Regions from separate parts of the Homo sapiens genome. Here region 2 is linked to region 1. Evidence: promoter capture Hi-C in human tissues and cell types (Jung and others, 2019). All regions are on one chromosome and are shown on one strand. The core of a region is centred on a gene start or on the middle of the fragment in contact, and the rest is flanking DNA. Distances in the headings are between cores, read along the strand shown. Region 1 holds the start of XPOT (exportin for tRNA). Region 2 has its middle 56 kb from the start of DPY19L2.

Region 1 (5,494 bases), core at 1,052-3,551:
CTTTTTAAAAAAATGCTGGCCAGGCAGGGTGGCTCACGCCTATAATCCCAGCACTAAGGAAGGCCGAGGGGAGGGGGGCGCAGATCAACTGAGGTCGGGAGTTCGAGACCAGCCTGACCAACATGGAGAAACCCCGTCTCTACTAAAAATACAAAAATTAGCCGGGTGTGGTGGCACATGCCTGCAATCCCAGCTATTCGGGAGGCTGAGGCAGGAGAATCGCTTGAACCCGGGAGGCGGAGGTTGCAGTGAGCTGAGATGGCGCCACCGCACTCCAGCCTGGTCAACGAGAGCGAAACTCCATCTAAAAAAAATTGCTGGCTGGGCACGGTGGCTCACGCCTGTAATCCCAGCATTTTGGGAGGCCGAGGTGGGCGGATCACGAGGTCAGGAGTTCGAGACCAGCCTGACCAACACGGTGAAACGCCGTCTCTACTAAAAATACAAAAATTAGCTGGGCATGGTGGCCTGCGCCTGTAATCCCAGCTACCCAGGAGGCTGAGGCAGAAGACTCGCATGAACCCGGGAGGGGGAGGTTGCAGTGAGCGGAGATCGTGTCATTGCACTCCCGCCTGGGCGACAGAGTGAGACACTGTGTCAAAAAAAAGAAAAAGTGCTTAAGCTTGGTCAAGTCACTCTGAAGCTATCGGGAGAAAAATGAAGTGGCCCTAAGGAAAACATAGCCAATAAACCCAAGGAAACAAACTAGTTAACAGTTGTCACTACAGAAAGAATCCCCCACATAGAAGGCATTTGGACGATCAATATGCAGTGGAAGGCCGGGCGCGGTGGCTCACGCCTGTAATCCCAGCACTTTGGGAGGCTGAGGCGGGCGGATCGCGAGGTCAAGAGATCGAGACCATCCTGGCTAACACGGTGAAACTCCATCTCTACGAAAAATACAAAAAGTAGCCAGGTGTGGCGGGGCGCACCTGTAATAGAGCTACTCGGGAGGCTGAGGCTGCAGAATCACTTGAACCTGGGAGGCAGAGGTTGCAGTGAGCCGAGATGGCACCACTGCACTGCAGCCTGGGCGACCGAGCGAGACTCCGTCTCAAAACAACAACAACAAAACCCCAAAAAATGTTTCAATACGGTAAACAATTATGCATCTTGCAAAGGTTCTTGGGGGAAGGCAAGCAACATACTTAAAATATTAAGCCTTAACTTTTCCTGGATAGCCATTAAGAATCAAACAATTTGGAAAAATTCCTCTACACCTACTGAAGACTGTTTCAAATACTACGACTGAATCTTTCCAGCCTTTTAACACCACGCTGACAAGTCGGTTTAATAAAACGTAACTCTCCCCCAACCCCCGCCCGCCACAACTAATTAGCACTTTCAAAAAGTACTCGTTTTTCTGGTTACAGGGAAACCTCATGCTTCTCTAGTCCTGCAGGATGGTGAGGAAGGTTTGAGAAGAAATGGAGCGTCCGTGCTGGCCAATTACTGCACAGAAATAACACTTTTCCTTTTTGTCCAGGGGTGGGGGAAGAATCAAGTTTGAGGTCTCCACAGTTGATAACGCTACAACGATGACTAACGGGCTTCGGAACCACAGGCGATGCCGACCCTCCTCTGCTAGCCTTGCTCCCATCCCTCCCCCGATCCCTCCCCTAAAGGAAGCCTCGTGGCAATTCGGGTGATGAAACACCAAGCAACCGCCGGCCACGCACTCGGGACGCGCTCCTCGGCGGCGGCCCCGGCTCGTACCCACCCCCACCCGGTCCGCCCAGCCAGGGGGTGCACCGCCATAGAGGGTCCCAAGCCTGCACCCTCCCTGGCGTCGGGACTCCCCCGGGCCGGTCCGCCCCGGCCAACTTCCTCGAAGCCTCACGCGGACCAAACCTGGTCCCGGTCCCGCTGCCCCCGAGCCCCGAGTCACCTTCCCTATCACTCCATCCCGCCTCCCAGCCTGCACTCCAGATGGTCAGCCAGCGGAGCGGAGCGGCGCGGCACGCAGAGAGCTGGGAGAGCGGCCCTCGTCCTTGTCGCCGTAGTCCTCCGCCACGGCCGCAGCTACAACGCCAGAGACGGTGCTGGCCGGGACCGCGCGCCTCTAGTCGCTCTGCGTCCCCTGGCACCTTCTCTTGCGTGGCGCCGGGCAGGCAGGCAGGCAGGCAAGCAAGCAAGCAAGCAAGCGGGCGGGGTCGGCGCCCCAGGAAGGGAAAGAGCGCGAGGGCCGGCTAACGCCGCCGCCGCCGCCGCAGCCGCCGCCGCCGCTGAGTCAGCGCGAAGCGCGCTCCCCGCGTCGGTGCCGCGCGGGCGGGCGCCGGCGCCAGCAGTCTCTTGGAGAGTGCGGGCGGCAGCCCGCGGGCTGACGCCGGAGGCCTACAACTCCCAGCATGCAGGGAGCGGCCGGCGCTTCCGGGCGGCGAGGCGCACACGCGCTCCCTGGCGCTCGCCGGAAGGCGTGGTCACCGGGGCTTGAGGTGCATGCCGGGATGAGGCATCCGGCCCAGGAGTCCCTACCCAGCTCCTAAATCCCCGGCTGTGTCTGCGTGGTGTCAGAGCTCAAGCGTCAGGTTCGCCCCGAGCATTCCACAAAGGGCTTCTAGTAGTTGAGAGTACGGATTCACGAATCAGGATGACGTGGTTCTAACCACGTGTGAGTCAATTTAATTGCTTGTCTACGGCCCCAAGTGTCCCGAGTACAGCAGTGTAAAGCTCTGATGAGTGCTGACAGGTTTTCAAAATTAATTAATTAATTTATTTATTTATTCTTTGAGACGGAGTCTCGCTCTGTCGCCCAGGATGGGGTGCAATGGCGAGATCTTGGCTCACTGCAACCTCCGCCTCCGGGGTTCAAGCAGTTCTCCTGCATCAGCCTCCTGAGTAGCTGGGATGACAGGCGCGCGCCACCATACCCAGCTAATTTTTGTATTTTTCGTAGAGACAGGGTTGCACCATGTTGGACAGGCTGATCTCGAACTCCTGACCTCAAGTGATCACCTGCCTCGGCCTCCCAAAGTACTGGGATTACAGGCGTGAGCCACGGTGTCCGGTCCAAAATTTATTTTAAACAGACTAAAATTTTGTCCATGAAAAGAAGGAGAGCATTCTTAGGAAGTCCTACTCACGGGATCTTTCGATGCTACTAAATGTCACTTCATTTATTTGGTCACAGATTTATTAATTTATTAATGCAACATAGAGGCAGTGTAGGCTTAGGCTGCCTCGACTTGACTGCCACTCCGCCTCCTCACTAGTTGACCTCAGGCACTTTACTTTAGTCTATCCATGCTTCAGTTTACTCGTATGTAAAATGGGGATTGTTAATAGTACCGACCTCAAAGGGTTTCTGTGAGGTTTGAGTTAATACATGTGTTTGACACACAATGTGCTCAATATTTACATTTCATTGTTGATTATTCAATGTGTACTAAATACAGACTAGGTTGCTGCCACAGACTACAAACAAAACTTGGAGAGGGAGGAATGGTAAGAGCATAGAATAAAACTAATGTTTTAACAGCTACCTTTATTTAGCTGTCCAAGACACTACACCAGGCATTTCCTATATAAAATACCTTGAATCACTCTTGCATCATGTTTCTAATTTATGTGTTTAAAATGTCAGGCTAGTGGCTACAAGATGTCGCTAAAGGAGAACTGGGTTTTAATTTTTTCTTGTTTTTAGAGAAAGGGTCTCGCTCTGTTACCCAGTCTGGAGTAGAGTGGTCATAGCTCACTGCAGCCTTGACCTCCTGGGCTCAAGCAATCCTCCTGCCTCAGCCGCCCAAGGAGCTGGGACTACGGGTGCATACCATCATACCTGGCTATTTTTGTTTGTTTTTGTAGAGATGGGGACTTGCTCTGTTGCCCAGGCTGATCTCTAACTCCCAGGCTCAAATGAACCTCCCACCTCAGCTTCCCAAAGTGTTGGAATTACGAGTGTGAGTCCCTGTGTCAGGCCTTAATTTTCTTCACGCTGCTCTCAGTTGGCTTCCCAACGAAATAGGTTCTTTGTTGTTCTGGCATACAAATTTTCTTTTGATTGTAATCCTTGCATGCATTATGTTTCTACTATTCAAATTATTAATTATTCAAATTAATTATAAACAAGAAGTATCTCTTGTTTTACTTCTGAGAAAACCAAAGTCATGGTATTCTCAAGACTAGAGATAATTCAACAAAGCCTGTGAATCTCCCTCATTTGGAATCTCTCTGGGCCCAATCTGTTTTCCACTGCTAGGGCGCTGCTGCTAAAGCTATATCATATGAAACCACCCTCCCTAAAAGCTCAGGGACCATCTCCAAATAGGAGGGCGAGTGAAACTGTAAGAGCTGGATTGATGGGTGGAATCTGGAAGCTAAAGTAACTCCATCTTTGGTACTAATCTGCCATGTTGGTTTCTGATTAACCCTGTTCCCGGAAGGCCTTTAAGATTTCAAGTTGTGTGAGAGCACATACTGTAAATTCTGCCCTTACGTCAAAACAGCCTTGATGTTATTGTACTTCAGTTGTCTACACATCCTGACGTGGTTTGGCTGTGTCTCCACCCAAATCTCATCTTGAATTGTAATTCCCATAATCCCCTCATGTCATGGGCGGGATCAGGTGGAGATAATTGAATCATGGGGTTGGTTTCCCCCACCCTGTTCTCGTAATAGTGAGTTTTCATGAGATCTGATGGTTTTATAAGGGGCTTCCCCCTTTGCTGGGCACTCATTCTTCTCTCCCCTGCCACCATGTGAAGAATGATGTGTTTGCTTCCCCTTCTGCCATGATTGTAAGTTTCCTGAGGCCTCCTCAGCCCTGAGGTACTGTGAGTCAATTAAATCTCTTTCCTTTATAAATTACCCAGTCCCAGGCATTCCTTTATAGCAGTGTGAGAACAGACATAATACACATCCCTTCTGAATTACATATACCCTTTCCATATGGGGGTTAATGGTGAGGGGATCCACCATCTTGTTTCACTGCTGCTGGAGACACAGGCATGGCTTTTTTCACAAGTTGCTATGAATGTTATTTCTAAGAAAAAAAATCTCAGGCTAGGATTTCTGCCCTACCTATTTCAGTATATCTTTCGAGTCTAGCACAGTGCCAGCCTGCTAGTTTCAACTCAATAACTGAATCATTGCATGAATTCTTATATTAGCTGTGATGATCAACTGTGGAGTATGAAGGCCCAATACTAATCTTGGGCTGAGTGCCTCTGCAATCTGTATGTTCAGCATATTCCAGGCCTCATCCTAAAGAATATGGCAATTCAATCTATCGTATTATAGATGTCTTTACTTGCTGTTTTGTTTGTAAATTCATTTTATGGCTACTTCTTATGTTGAATGTTATACAAAGCCTATCTTCAGTTTATCTACAGTTTATCTACTAACATTAGCTCTTTCGTTTATGGTAGTTGAAATACCTAGAATTGTAGAAATCTCTTTCAACTTTGTAAACTCATATTATTTCAGAACAAATAAAGAGGCTAGGCGCGGTGGCTCATGCCTGTAATCCCGGCACTTTGGGAGGCTGAGGCAGATG
Region 2 (5,703 bases), core at 2,219-4,718, 680 kb after region 1:
AATATAGGAAATAATCAGGCATGAGGAAATGATTTTGACCATCTAATAAATATGGTGTCTAGTCTCTGAGGCAGTGCTAATTATTCTAGTTTTGATAATTTTACATCAGGAAGGAGTAGACAGTTGTCCCACGGCAGTGGAAAAATATTTCTTCTACTCCTATTATATTTCATTCCCTCTACTGCTAAATAAATACAGTCCTGGAGGTAGGTGGTAGGGACAGTTAAAAAAGAAGGGTCAACATGGGAGAGCTGAATGCAAATTTTGGAAACTGAAGCTTATACTATTATTACTTTTCTTTTTTTTTTTTAATGAGACTGTGTCTCGTTCTGTTGCCCAGGCTGGAGTGTAGTGGCGCAATCTCAGCTCACTGCAACCTCCGCCTCTCAGTTAAAACGATTCTTATGCCTCAGTCTCCCGAGTAGTAGCTGGGATTACAGGTGTGCACCACCATGCCTGGCTAATTTTTGTATTTTTAGTAGAGATGGGGTTTCACCATGTGTCCAGCCTGATCTCAAACTCCTGGCCTCAAGAGATCGGCCTGCCTCGGCCCTCCCAAAGTGCTGGAATTACAGGCATGAGCCCCTGCACCCAGCTTATTACTGTTATTATTATTTTTTAATTTAAGAGATGATGTATTTCTGATTATACTGTGGATTCTTTTAAACCTCATCCCCTTGATTTATAGCTTAGCTTTACTTCTCAATATTTTCTTGCCTTTCTGTCTTACAGTTCATCTCTGAGAACATGTTTTGCACTTTTTAAAGGCCCTGCTGACGTTCTCAGTACCATTTTCTTTATAAATTGTTTTTAGTAACCTGGGACATTTTAAAGGTGAGCCATTCTATAGCTTAAGTTTTATCCACAGCTTTATTGCTACCATATTTTATTTGGCAAGTACTATCTTCATGGAAAGTACCAGTTAGACAGAAAAATCTAAATAGATTTTTTTTTTTGATTTCCCAGGAAATTTGATTTCCTTGAGATTAACCTGAGGCTTACTTTAACCTAAAGGTTATTATTAAAATTCTTGCCTGGGTGCAGTGGCTCCATACCTGTAATCCCAGCACTTTGGGAGGCCCAGCGGTCGCATCGCTGGAGTCTAGGAGTTCGAAACCAGCCTGGCAACATGGTAAGACCCCATCTCTCCGAAAAAAACAAAAACAAAACAAAACAAAAAAAAAATTAGCCAGGTGTGGTGATCCATGTCTGTAGTCCCAGCTACTCAGGAAGCTGAGATGGGAGAATCGCTTGAGCCTGGGCGGTCAAGATCGCAGTGAGCCGTGATTGCACTACTGCACTCCGGCCTGGGTGACAGAGTGAGACACTATCTCAAAAAAAAAAAAAAAAAAAAAGAAATTTTTAATAATCATTTCAGTTTTATCATTATGACCAAGCTATACATGATTTAGTACCATAAATGCCATTCTGTTTTTGCTTTGCATATTCATTTGCATAAACTAGGAATTGGGGAGATGAGATCACTTGGCTAAGGATTAAAGGACTAGAAACTCACAGATTCAAAATTTTTACCCAAGTCTGTCTAACACCCCACTGCTTTTCTAAACTCTTTTATTTTTTTCTCCATAAATAATAATCTGGCCTCTTAGAATATGTGATTTCTTATTTTAGAAAATTTAGACATGCGTCCTTTGGTCTAACTAGACTAGCAAAACAAAAGTATTTAAAATACTTGATTTTTAAAAATCGGTAAAACTTATCCTTCAGATGACCTCTCCCCCTACCATTTTAGAAAGGACACTTGAAACAACCTGTGTGGTTTGCAGTTGTTTCGGTAAAATGTGATTCACAACAATGACTCTGCAGTATCTTGTGAAAATGATTTGCCTTAAGGCTGGAAAGGGTAGATCCATATCTTAAAATTGACTTTGAAATTGTAGACCATTTGGTTCTTTCTTGCCTCATTGTAATTTGGCCTGTTGAGCAGTATAAGTATGTAAAATTCAGTACTTTCCATCTTTTTGTTGTAGATCATTTTGAACTCAATGCATAAGTACCAGCCAAGGGTGCACATCATTAAGAAGAAAGACCACACAGCCTCATTGCTCAACCTGAAGTCTGAAGAATTTAGAACTTTCATCCTTCCAGAAACAGTTTTTACGGCAGTCACTGCCTACCAGAATTAACTGATGAGTGTACAGTTCACAATTTAGTTCCTGCATAAGAGAAGGATTTAGGAGGTTCTTATATTTTCTTGGAGAGAAGTGATATCCCAGTACTCAAAATGGATGTTCACTTTGCAGAGAGCTATTGAGTTTCAGTGCTAGGACCTCTAAGAGTGTGTTGAGTGACTGTGTATTACACTGTATTTTCTAGAATCTCTACATTATGGGTCAAGTTTTTAACTGCCCACTTCCCCACCCACACCTACCCCAATCTGCCTTCTCACATTTTCTTCTCCAGAAGGTTACTTGCCTCCTTTTCCTCCTCCTGGTAACATGTATAACCATGTTCTTGTTGCTTCATAAAATTTAAAAGTTCAGTTTTTCTGCTGAATTAAACACACCTATTCTATCCAACTGCCCAAACTGCTGATACTTTAGATATTTTGTGAGGTTTTATTCAGCTATAATTTAGGGTGAGATAATTCTGGTAAAATGATTTTAAATGTCTTTTTAGATAGTAAACTATAGTATGTAACATCAAGATATCTAATTTATATTATTGAGTTATATGCAGGGTGAGTATCCCTAATCGAAAAACCCAAAATCTGAATGCTCCAAAATCTGAAACTTTTTGAGCATTGACATGACACTCAAAGGAAATGCTCACTGGAGCATTTCAGATTTTAGATTTGTGGATTAAGGATGCTTAACCTGTAAGTATAATGCACATTCCCAAATCTGAGAAAATCTGAGATCCAAAATACTTTTGGTTCCAAGCATTTCAGATAAGGGATACTCAACCTACATTTTTTACTCTCTGTTGTACATCACATTTAAAATTAATAAATTTTTGGCCAGGTGCAGTGGCTCATGCCTGTAATCCCAGCACTTTGGGAGGCCAGGGTGGGTGGATCACCTGAGGTCAGGAGTTCGAGACCAGCCTGGCCAACATGGTGAAACCCTGTCTCTACTAAAAATACAAAAGTTAGCTGGGCCTGGTGGCACATGCCTGTAGTCCCAGCTACTCGGGAGGCTGAGGCAGGAGAATCGCTTGAACCTGGGAGGCAGGGGTTGCAGTGAGCAGAGATCTCACCACTGCATTCCAGCCTGGGCGACAAAGCGAGACCCCACCTCAAAAAAATAAAATTAAAAAAAATAAACTTAATGCATTTCTTCATCCATAGGGCTTATTCCAACTTAGTAAATATTTATCAAGGCCATACTAAGGGCTATGTACTGATAGACATTTCCCATACATTTTCTTCTTTTGTGCCCAGCGTAAGCTTAAGGGGCTGTGGCAGTACTACGCTCCATAGGTGAGGAAGCTGAAGCTAAGAGAGGGTGAGTAACTTCTCTCCATCAGAAAGGACCAGAAATAGAATTCCTTTTCATACACTTCAATATAAAAGGAAGTCACATGCTCCGTTTACTTGACACATTCAGTTGTTTATGACCTCTCTGTGTCTTTGTATCTTGTGTTTGTTTCATTGGTCATAGGTAGCCAAGACTACTGCTCTCCTCTTGTCTTGATGTTGTTAGGTTTTGGGTTCTGAGTGAGTAGCTATTAGATGCTGCCTGGTAGATGGCTCAGAGTCCAGAGGAGGATGGTCACCTGGAAGCGAGGTGGTGTGGAGACCCTCGGGACAGGCAAGATGAAGCTGACATCACAGCCAGCCTCACAGAAATGAGGTAGTAGAAGCCTGGAAAAGGGATGTGGGCAGATGGCCAGAGTGGATGTATGTAAGGCTTACTCTCCTAGGATTTCTATACAACTTTGAGTAGATTTCATTTCACCAGTGGCTGCTGTTTTCCTTACCTAGCTATTAGGGCCAAGAACTGACCAGACCATTTTAGGGGATTGCTGTGAAGATCAAATGTAGTTGTGTGTGTAGGCTTGTTTAAGCCTTTGGAAGCTGTAAGGTGCTCTGTAAATAAGACGTGGTTATGATGGGGCTATCTCAGAAATGTCAAAAAAAGAATTTGTCACCATTTGTATTTTAAAATTTTAGTGGTGTATTAGTTAATGAGATAGAGAAATTAATGCATAATTGCTATCATGCTGATGATCTTATAGTAAAGGCAAGTATTGTAACCTTTGAATTATCTCCAAGATCATAACACAGGAGTGGAAACATTCAGAGAATGCCCAAACTAAAAGTTGGGGTTTAGATGGAAGCCTACAAAGGCCTGAAGCGCTAATGCTGTTTCTTTGCAAATCTGGAACACTGAAACCAGCAATCCTGTTTTTAATTTATTTGAGGGCACGTGGGATGCAAATATCATAGGCTCCAAAAAGATTCCAAAAACATTCCATTCATTTATACTAATTGATTTCATAGCTTTTATAATATACACCATGCTAATATATTCTAACAATTTAAATTTATGCTCACTTAAGAAACCTTATTGATGTTTGGAAATAACATAGACACTTGTCATGTGGAAACCTCATTGCTTTTATCATAATTCTTTTTAAAGAGGGCCAAAGCAGGAGGAGGTAAATTGTTTTCCTCTTTATTTTTTTTAGTGAAAATTATAGAGATGAACAAAAATTAAAGTTTCTAGTAAACTTTAAAGTATAATGCCTGAGATTTGGTTTAATAGGTGAGAGAGCAAGACTGCGTAAGTGTTGGCGGGACCTCTCATATCATAGGACGGTCTTATTTACATAATACGAATAACAGCTAACATTTGGGTACTTACTATGTGCAAGACACCACTTGAATTCATAATCACACTTGATCTTCTCAATGATATCGTGAGATAGGAACAATTGTATTTTTATTCAGCATCGTACAGTTGGGGTAATTGAGGCACTAGTTAAATAAGTCATCTGAAGTGACCTTGCTCCTCCCATTGCAGATTTGAATTCAGGTGGTTAAGATTCAAGAGGGAGTGCCCTTAACCCCTAAGCTGTGAGTGCCTGCTGTTCCCAAAGAAGCAGAACTTCACCCTCTCTCAGCTCTTGGCCCTGATAGACTCTGAGACATCAATTTTAGAGAGCATCAACTCTTTATGCTCATTTTTTTTTAAACAAATGTGCTGCTCACACCACACATCAGCAAGTGTAACACGATGATGATCATCCTAAACAGGAGGTCAGAATATCTGCTAGTACTCGCTGTATCCAACTGGAACCACATCTTTAATGACATTTTCTAATTTAATTCTTGTTTTTCTACTCGATTTTTTATTTAGAACAAATTTCAGATATACAAAAAATGAAACAAATAGTAAAATGAACCTCACATGCCTTCCACCCAGATTCAGCAATGCCAAATTTGCTTTTCCCCCAAATTTTCTCTTTCCTTCCTCTTCCTCTCTATATGCAAACATACTTCCCCTCTTCCTTCCCATTTTCTTCCCTCCCCTTTTGAAACTAAGTTGCATGCTTCCTGAGACTTCTAAACACTCTGTAAGCCTATTCTGACAATTAGAACATTATTTTTATAATCCCAACATCTTTATCACAGCTAAGAAAATTTATAAGAATTTGTTCTTTATATCACCTAATATTCAGTTTATATTAAAATTTTCAGGATAGACCAACTGCCCCTAAACCCCCTCTGAACTAGGA

The links. Contacts are between HindIII fragments. The study calls those that stand out against the background at their distance.
Region 2: a contact is called between a fragment that was not itself captured here and the fragment with the promoter of XPOT in region 1, in 1 of the 25 tissues and cell types used here (dorsolateral prefrontal cortex).

The regions. Positions count from the first base shown.
Region 1 is chr12:64,401,199-64,406,692 of GRCh38, reverse strand. It overlaps XPOT (exportin for tRNA), which reads right to left and starts at 2,301. Exons shown (of 25, transcript NM_007235.6): 1 at 1,889-2,301. RefSeq lists enhancers at 703-1,579, 2,677-2,726 and silencers at 1,687-1,796, 2,127-2,286. The HindIII fragment of the contact is 11,570 bases long and covers 302-5,494 here.
Region 2 is chr12:63,721,220-63,726,922 of GRCh38, reverse strand. It overlaps the pseudogene LOC100418730. Among named protein-coding and RNA genes, the nearest start is that of DPY19L2, 56 kb to the right of the region's middle. The HindIII fragment of the contact is 3,249 bases long and covers 1,844-5,092 here.